Regions from separate parts of the Homo sapiens genome. Here regions 2 and 3 are each linked to region 1. Evidence: promoter capture Hi-C in 16 types of primary human blood cells and fetal thymus (Javierre and others, 2016). All regions are on one chromosome and are shown on one strand. Each heading gives the region's core, a stretch centred on a gene start or on the middle of the fragment in contact. The rest is flanking DNA. Distances are from core to core; before and after follow the strand shown. Region 1 holds the start of LCORL (ligand dependent nuclear receptor corepressor like). Region 2 overlaps QDPR (quinoid dihydropteridine reductase). Region 3 overlaps LOC105374510 (a long non-coding RNA gene).

Region 1 (3,183 bases), core at 53-2,552:
CTTAGCAAACGTTGGGTAGCTTAGCTTCGGCTTGATAAACTGCACTTATACGGAAACAAACGCACAATCGCTCTGGTGCAAAAGTAAAAACTGTGATTGGAGTCTGTATTTAAACGTAAGATTCCTCTCTAGCTCTCTCTGAAGAAGTTATTTTCTCTAGCACGTGGTAGAATTCATTCCATTAACCTTTGTAAAGTGCTTAATCCCGTGTCACGCACTGTACTAGGGTCTAGCGAGTGACAGATGTCACGGTACAGAGATCTCAGTGGGTCGCTGCCCTCCAGGAGCTTATAAAGAAAATTTTCCTTCTGCAGTTTTCAGCCGGCTACACCCAGTCCCCTGCAAGTAATTTTCAGTGAAAAAAACCCGCATCTTTTTCCTAGTCCTTGCAAATATTCTGGCTTTCCGAGATCTCTTCGCCTTGAATACCGAAGTCACTCCGGGATCTCTCTCTGGACGTTTGGCAGTTATTCCAGATGTAGCCGAATGACCGGCTTGCCCTTTCCCTGCGGAGTGACAGGAAGACAGCGACCCCGGAAAGTTTCCAGCACTTAAAACGCAAAGCGCAGCCTGAACCCACAAGGAGCCGACAACTCTTGCGGCTTCCACCACCCTTCTATCGCGGAGCCTAAGGAAGCTAAAGCAGTCGGGTCAGACCCGGCCACCGGGCAGCGCATGGTTCCGGGCGCAGGGAGCGACAGACTCAGCCCCCCAGCGGCGCGGCGCAGAGAAGTTGCAGGCCAGCCTGCATACCCAAGTGCGGGGGGGAAGAAAAACAAACAAACAAAAAAAATCCTTTCTTCTGGACTACAATGACCGGCAAGCAACGCGCCACGGCGCCAAGTTCAGCTTCGGGATCCTGGCGAAATGGAGCCTGGGAAGTGAAGTCTCCGGACTGTCGGAGTCCCGTAGTGAAGGCAGAAAGTAGGCGTTGCTAGTCCGCTCCACTAGCACGCCGGTTCCTGGCTGGGCTCCGGGTCTCTCGCTCCCGCTCAGGGTTTTCGCGGGCGGCGGGAGCGGTATGGCTCGCCTGAGTAAACTCCAGCGGGAGGGGGAGGAGGGTAGTGGGTGGGGAGGCGGGGTCAGCGGAAGCGGCAGGTTGCTTCCTTCTCCTCTGGCTCCCTCCCCGCCTCTCCCTGAGGGAGCGGTGGGAGGGGGAGGGCAGGGCAGAGGGAAGGTAGTGACACGTGTCAATCAACCCCCCTCCGGGGGGCGCGCGCTCCGGGGCTCGCGCCGAGGGCTCGCGCCCCTGCCTCGTGCCTGCGCTGCTCGTATGTAAATGAGGGCGCGTGACGCGGGACGCAGATGGACAAGGGAAGAGAGAGAATGGCCGCTGCCGCCGCCGCTGCTGCCGCCGCCGCCGCCGCCGCTCAGTGCCGGAGCCCTCGGTGCGCGGCGGAGAGAAGAGGATTCCGGCGGGAACTCGACTCTTGGCGCCACCGCCTCATGCACTGTGTAGGTAAGAGAGACGCGGGCCGGGGCCCCGGGCTCCGCGCGGCGACCGCTGTCGCAGCCCGAGGAGTTTGTGGCTGAGGGGTTTAGTTGAATCTCCCGTTCGGGTTAGTTCGGTGGGGGAGCGAGATGGGAGCGGCGCGGCGCGGCGGCCCCGGCGCTCGCCTTTTGTCTTGCGGGCTGCTGGCCCGGCGCGGTCCGCGCTCCTTCGCCTTCCCAGCTCTTGGGCTCCCCGGGAACTGTTAGTTTGGACCCGCTTGCTGAGCCCCCGCGGAAGCCGCCCGCTCGCTCTCTCCCCGAAACTCCTCGGCGCCCGTCGCTGCCCGCCGTCGCCCGCCGTCCACCCTGACAGGACGGAGGAAGCGGCCCGGTGGGTCGGCGCCCTGGCGGAGGAGAGCCGGCGGGCAGGGCGGCCGGAGGAAGGCGGGCTGGTCCGCGCCCCCGCCGAGCGCACACACACCCCCTTGTCGCCGCCGGGGGCCGGGTGAGCAGACGCGGCCAGTTCCCGGGGACCTGGACCTGGAGACCCACGGGCACTCGCAGGGCGGGGGCCGCTGATGGGCCGGCTGGGGGCGAGGGGCGGCGGGGGCGTCGTCCGAGGGGCGGGGGGCGCCCAACTCTGCCCTCTCGCGCTCGGCGGCGGCGCTGTGTGTACCCCTTTAAGAAGGAGCCGCTTGAGCGCTGACGGTTGGGATTTGAAGTTCTTCCTCCCTCTTTGGAAGTCTGGACGGATGGGGGGTGTTGCCACGGCAACGACACCCTCCCCCCCGTCTGCTTGCGGACGCCCCGACGACTCTGGTCCTCTTTCACTGTCATGTGATGGACTCTTCCTTACACACACACACACATATACACGCATACGCATCGCCCTCCCCACCTCCCATCCCCATTCAACTGCAATTCCCTCTTTTTGGTTGGATCTGAATCGTTTTGCCTCAAACTTCTGGGCTTGGGGCTCTCACCCTGTGGATTGTTTAGGGTGACAGGAATGGTGGGACTCCCGACCTTGCTGCAGTCGCTTTTTTTTTTTTCTTTTTTTGCCTAAGACGAATGCATAGAGCTGTTATCCAGCAGGTTGGTTTAGTGGGCTTAGAGGGGCGAACACGGATTATGGAATGGGGCGCGTTGTGGGTGTTTGTTTTGGAAGGGGGTTATGGGTGGGAGTGTAGGGGAAGAGGTAGAAAGGAAGGTTGTATTGTGTAAGCAGTGGATAGTGGCAGCAGCTTGCTCTACTGGCGAGTGAATCTTGGCATTTGGAGTTGGGGAGTAACCCTAGTGTCTTAAGAAAACAACTCTCTTACCTTGTTTCCATCTGCTCTGGCACCACCTCGCACCCCCGACCCCGCCTCCCATGTATTTGGTTAACGTCTTAAGATCTTTTTTTGACTAGTAGAGAAGAGATCGTATTAGGTTAAACTTAATACAATTTCAGTTCAGAAATGTGTACCGCAGAACGCGATGAATATAGGAAAATGTATGAGAAAGGAAGGTTACTTTAGGGGGCATTTAAGTGATGTTTAAGTAATTTACTGCTTTTGTTTTGCCCTTACGAAAAATGTATTTTGGTCTTCTCTAAGGAAAGATGATGAGAAATAGCTTTAGTCAAGTATTCGTAAGTGATTTTAGTTTATGAAGTGTAAAAAAAAACCTCTAGGTATTCTTTATATAAATTGTTTAAAAAACTAAATATTGTTGTTTGTGCTTCTTGAATACAAAATGGGCTGTTTTTGA
Region 2 (2,915 bases), core at 213-2,712, 520 kb after region 1:
GTGGTGTGACATATGTTACCATTTGTTCTTCCTTATGTCTCTGGCAAGGCCGGGGAGTTAAAACAAGTGTAAAATGGTTGTTATTTTAGCTTTCTTTTGAAGAGTCTTTAAAGCTAACATTAAACTTTCAGACATAAAATATGTAGCTCAGTAAAAGCTCTCTTTATAGCTGTACAGTAATAGGCCCTTGGATTTTTATCACAGAGAAAACCTGACGTAGACATATAGGTTCTTATTACAAATCTGATACCATTCATAAAATAAAACAATCTTTGAATTAAAGCCAGTCCAGCAAATCAGTAAACTCCAGGTTTATTTTGTAAAATTTATTGGCCAACATTTTGCCAGTGTATAGGTAAGGAAGCTGAACCTCAGGCAATCCCATGGCCTGGATTTGAACCTGTGTCTCTGACCACTGAGCCCTGTGCTGTTTGTGTTAGACCTTGCTGTAGATAGGGACCTGGGGACCAGGAGGGAGGGCCTCCCTGAGTGTGGGGCTGCATGAGTTGAGCTCACCTTTTGGTTTCTTTCCTGGGAATGCTGAGCCCACATGTTTTTTTCACTCAGCTCTCTTTAAGAACTGTGACCTGATGTGGAAGCAGAGCATATGGACATCGACCATCTCCAGCCATCTGGCTACCAAGCATCTCAAGGAAGGAGGCCTCCTGACCTTGGCTGGCGCAAAGGCTGCCCTGGATGGGACTCCTGGTAAGCCTTTATTTCCCTATCTGTGGAGTGGGGTTGCTTACCTTGCTTGCTGGGGCTGCTGGGCACTTTCATGGGATGAGGACTGTTAAAGCCTTTACCCTCTAAGCTGCTTAACAGATAGATGGATTTTGTCTTCTTTTGGGCCTGAATCATTTTAGGGAGAAGAGTTCTGATCTTTTGTTTGCCTGTCCTTATGTTTATGGTGGTGGTAAGGAACGCTATGATCTGGTAACCCCCATTTAGTTTATTTATCTGTGATCTACACTGGAATGAATGGTTTAGTGGATATTAATTAATTAATAAACATGGATTATTATTATCACATTGAATCCATGTGTTCCAGGGAAGCAGCTTAGCAGCTGGAAATAGCATAAGTTTAAAATGAGAGAGGTTCATTTGGCCAGCACAGTGGCTCACACGTGTAATCCCAGCACTTTTGGGAGGCTGAAGCAGGAGGATTGCTTGAGCCCAGGAGTTCAAGACCAGCCTGGGCAACATAGTGAGACCCTATCTCTACATTAGAAAACAAAAAGAGAGTGAGAGGGTTGGGGGTGGATTCTTTATCCTAGATGTGTGACCCTGAACCAGTTCTTCAGTCTCTGACCAGATGTCTACTGTAGTTTCCTTAATTGTAAAATAGTGACAGTGACATCTAACTTGAAGAGTACTGTAAAACTGTAGAGGTGTAGCTATGTAGAAAGTGCACATGGTAGGCACCCATAAATGGCAAGTCTTACTGTTATTCACAATAAATGGTAGGTCTTATAGTCACTCTTTTCATTTCACATATATTCTCACTTTAATCTCATCAATATTATCTTTTTCAGTTTACAGGTTAGGAAACTAAAACTTGGAGAGTTAAGTAACTTGTCTGGGTTTGTGCAGGAAGTAAGTTGCAGACTTACTTGAACCAAAACCCTAATCATCTACCAACTGTGTATTTTTTCCATTATGTCATTTCTTTTGCATTTTTTATGACCTGTATTAGTTTGTTTGGGTAGCCACAGACTGGGTGGCCTAAACAACAGAGATTTATTTTCTCATAACTCTGGAGGCTAAAAGTCTGGAGATCAAGGTATCTGCAGGGCTGGCTCCTTCTGAATCCTCTTTTTTTATAGATGGCTGCCTTCTCCTTTTGTCTGCATGTGGTCTTCCCTCTGTGTGTCTGTCCTCGTTTCCTCCTCTTCTAAGGAAACCAGGCATATTGGACTAGGGCCCATCTCAATGGGCTCATTTTAACTTTGTTGCCTCTTTAAAGATCTTCGAATACAGTCCCATTCTGAGGTACTGGGAATTAGGACTTCAATATACGAATGTTGGGGGGATCTATTTCAGCCCATAACACTCCCTGTGGGATAGGGCTAAAGGAATTTAAGCAGGGGTAGAAAGGGGCAGCATAGGGAGGCAGAAAGTGTCTACCTCAACTACCTAAGTTGAACTCTTCTTTTAAAAAAATGGGAGCTTTTGGCCGGGTGCAGTGGCTCACACCTGTAATCCCAGAACTTTGGGAGGCCAAGGCGGGTGGATCATGAGGTGGAGATTGAGACCACCCTGGCTAACACGATGAAACCCTGTCCCTACTAAAAATACAAAAAATTAGCCAGGCGTGATGGTGGCTGAAGCAGGAGAATGGCGTGAACCCAGGAGGTGGAGCTTGCAGTGAGCCGAGATCGCGCCACTGCACTCCAGCCTGGGCAACAGAGCAAGACTCCCTCTCAAAAGAAAAAAAAAAAAGGTGGGGGGAGCTCTTTTTGACTCTCTTGTAAGTGGTAGAGACCTTGGGACCCTTCTCAGTTGTTTATTTTTTTAGAGACAGGGTCTCACCCAGGCTGGAATGTAGTGGTATGATCTAGCTCACTGTAGCTTGGAACTCCTGGGCTCAAGCAATCCTTTGCCTCGGCCTCCTGAGTAGCTGGGACTGCAGACACACACTGCCATGCCTGGCTAATTTTTGTATTTTTTGTAGAAGCAGGGTCTCGCTATGATGCCCAGGCTGGTCTCAAATTCCTGGCTTCAGGTGATGCTCCTGCCTTGGCCTCCCGGAGCACTGAGACTACTGGCATGAGCCACTACGCCAGGCCCCTTCTCAATTTTAATGTAACTCACTGAACTGTGAGGCTGTGACTACTAGCAATACCTTCCCTCTCATTTTCTTCTTCCATTTCTTAGAGCATGTGATGTTACAAGTCCATGGCTATAGCAATCAT
Region 3 (2,888 bases), core at 364-2,863, 570 kb before region 1:
TTATCCATATATGAGAGAGGGAATAATGGATGTCTTCATATCTGACTTGTCCAATTTTACCTAAAATACTAGTGAGCAAGTGGGAACCAGGACACAGATCTTCTAATTCAGCCAAGCATAATTTTCGCCATAAAGATTCTTAAGTCTGTATTCAAATAATAATCATGCAAACTAATATTGGTGTAGCATTTTACATTTTAAAAAAGCAATTTTTCAGCAAACAATCAACATAATATCTTAGTTAAAAATGGTTGGGAGGCCGAGGTGGGCGGATCACAAGGTCAAGAGATCGAGACCATCCTGGCCAACATGGTGAAACCCCGTCTCTACTAAAAATACAAAAATTAGCTGGGCGTGGTGGCGTGTGCCTGTAGTCCCAGCTGTTCGGGAGGCTGAGGCAGGAGAATGGCTTGAACCCAGGAGGTGGAGGTTGCAGGGAGCCGAGATCGCACCACTGCACTCCTGCTTGGCGACAGAGCGAGACTCCATCTCAAAAGAAAAAAAAAAAGGTAATATTCACAGCATTTCTTCAGAACAATAAACTATGGACCAAGGAAATGAAAAAACTTGTTTCAGATCATACCCCTAAAAAGTGGCAGCATTCAAATAGCAGCACTTTGGTTAGCAAATCCCACTTTTCTCCCCGAAATTTTATGACACCATTACATCTAGAGTTGCGATGCATATATTACTGTATCTCCCTTACCTTATGAAATAGGGAAGCATGGAGATTCTCATCCTTATTTCCTAGAACAGAAACTTCAAAGTACCAATGATTTAAAGTTACAGTCACGCTAATGGGAGGATTAGCAGTTAGCACCCAATCAAGTACACTCAGCCCCTTTATGTGAGACAACCGTTTACCTAAACAATCACGATAGTTTGTGACTATCGTGAAACAATCCCAGTCGAAGAAGCGCAATGCTTCTGTCCCATTAATGTTAAGGAAAATCCTCTTCGACTGAAGGATTTGGGCGAGGTTTTCTCAGTTTGACCACATGGTGGCAGTATTACCATGCATTGAAAGACTTCCAGCCCCAGCAGTTCAGAATAAGAGTGCGCTGCCAATTGGCTCAGAAAAACATCCTTTTGTGTCCTCTTTGACTTCGAGATGTGCAAAAAAAGATAGCAAGCTGTGTGGTCTCTGAATAGAGAGCTCTGTTTCTTCTTTCCAGCTTACTAGAAGGATATGGGTGCCGAGTGAGAGGCAATACTACAGCAGCCTAATGAGCCAATTATTTTGTTTGGCACAAATATCACTAGGGACTTAGAGAAAGGTGCTTTCATACAAGAAGGAAAGCAAAACACAACTAACAACTACAATTTCAGGCAAATCATGGACTTAAAACGTGTCCCTGAGTTTAAGTTTTATTATCTTGTCTCTTTATGTGACTTTCCAACAAGGAGCAAAGAAATATTTGGTTTGGCATTTTTCATTTTTATTGGTGACTTCTTCAAATTGACACAAGTTGTATTTGTCTAGCAATAAATCCACAGTGCAGCCTGCTTGCCAATCTATGCATTCAAAATATTTCATCTTGATTATATATATCAGGTGCACCAAAGGGACTATCTCATTTAATCTTAAAGTAATTGTGTATAATAGGTGTCATTATTTTCATTTTACACAGGAAGAAAGTAAAGTAAAAAAAAAAATAAACTAACTTCAGCTCCCAAAGACAGTAAATACACAGAATCTGAACAATCTAATGCATAAACCCACAATTTTCCTCCCCATCACACTCATTTTACATTCAAAATAATTTCTCTCCCATTAAAAATTATTTTTTTATTATTCAAATGTATTTTTAAATTTTTAAGTAGAGAAGTTTCAAGAAAGAAACAAAAAATCATGCAGGCTTTTTTTTTTTTTTTTTTTTTTGACTGAGTCTCATTCTATCGCCCAGGCTGCAGTGCGGCGGCATGATCTCGGCTCACTGCAACCTCTGCCTTCCAGGCTCAAGGAGCTCAAGCAAATTCTCATGCCTCAGACTCTCAGACAGCTGGGATTTCAAGTGTGTGCCACCATACCCCGCTAATTTTTTGTATTTTTAGTAGAGACAGGGCTTCACAATGTTGCCCAGGCTAGTCTCAAACTCCTGAGCTGTGGCAATCCACCCACCTTGGCTTCCGAAAGTGCTGGGATTACAGGCATGAACCACTGCACCTAGCCCGTTTTTTCTTCTCTCTCTCTCTCTTTTTAACATAGATTCCATAGCAAGGATGTATTGTAATTAATTTGACAGATCCTAACGGTTTATTTCCTCTCTGTATGATCTTAACTAAGAAAATGTATGGTTAGTTTTCTTTTAATTTAAAAATGACATCATAGCACCACACCAACAGACTAAATATGGTTAAAGAGTGGTTGGACCAGAAAGAAACTAATACAATAAAAAGAAATACTGTTTTTATGGTTTTGAAAACTATCACATAACCGCACTGCCGATCACCTTAAGGCTGCAGCAAGGAGCACTTAGGGGGCCAGGGACAGAGCCCAGCTGAGATTAGAAGGGAAATCATCTTTCCCCTGGGTGTTCAAATCCTCCTTCACAGGAGGTGCTCTCTGGCAGGCATTTACCTAAGATAAATGATCCACATGCTCTAGGCTCATGGTCATAGGTTCATCTACACACTTGTTTCCACTAGCAACTTGTCCCTGATTTTCCATTCGTGATCCTTTCATTATTCCACCCAAACCATTTGCCACTGCCCAGAAGTGTGTGCACGGGTGTGTGTATGTGTGCATATGCCTGCATCTTAGCAGGCAACATCTCCCACCACACCAAGCTCATGACCAGGTGTTTAAAACTCTGCCCAGCCAAAGTATTCTATTTCATCATTGTCCTTTAATGGTGCTATAATAGAACAATAGTGCATTTTCAGCT

Evidence for each region. The method cuts DNA at HindIII sites, captures the fragments that hold promoters and counts their contacts. A CHiCAGO score of 5 or more calls a contact.
Region 2: a fragment that was not itself captured here is called in contact with the fragment with the promoter of LCORL in region 1 in 4 of 17 cell types (total CD4 T cells, naive CD8 T cells, non-activated CD4 T cells and 1 more); the score reaches 8.1 in total CD4 T cells.
Region 3: a contact is called between a fragment that was not itself captured here and the fragment with the promoter of LCORL in region 1, in 10 of 17 cell types (naive B cells, naive CD8 T cells, endothelial precursors and 7 more). The highest score is 9.4, in naive B cells.

Annotation. Positions count from the first base shown.
Region 1 is chr4:18,019,874-18,023,056 of GRCh38, reverse strand. LCORL (ligand dependent nuclear receptor corepressor like) reads left to right here and starts at 1,302. Exons shown (of 8, transcript NM_001394446.1): 1 at 1,302-1,459. The coding sequence starts at 1,306. RefSeq lists an enhancer at 671-930 and silencers at 981-1,440, 1,761-2,090. The HindIII fragment of the contact is 12,000 bases long and covers 1-3,183 here.
Region 2 is chr4:17,499,512-17,502,426 of GRCh38, reverse strand. It overlaps QDPR (quinoid dihydropteridine reductase), which reads left to right. Exons shown (of 7, transcript NM_000320.3): 4 at 568-708. Among named protein-coding and RNA genes, the nearest start is that of QDPR, 11 kb to the left of the region's middle. The HindIII fragment of the contact is 6,470 bases long and covers 1-2,915 here.
Region 3 is chr4:18,591,849-18,594,736 of GRCh38, reverse strand. The region is part of intron 1 of LOC105374510 (a long non-coding RNA gene); the gene reads right to left. Among named protein-coding and RNA genes, the nearest start is that of LCORL, 570 kb to the right of the region's middle. The HindIII fragment of the contact is 4,680 bases long and covers 1-2,888 here.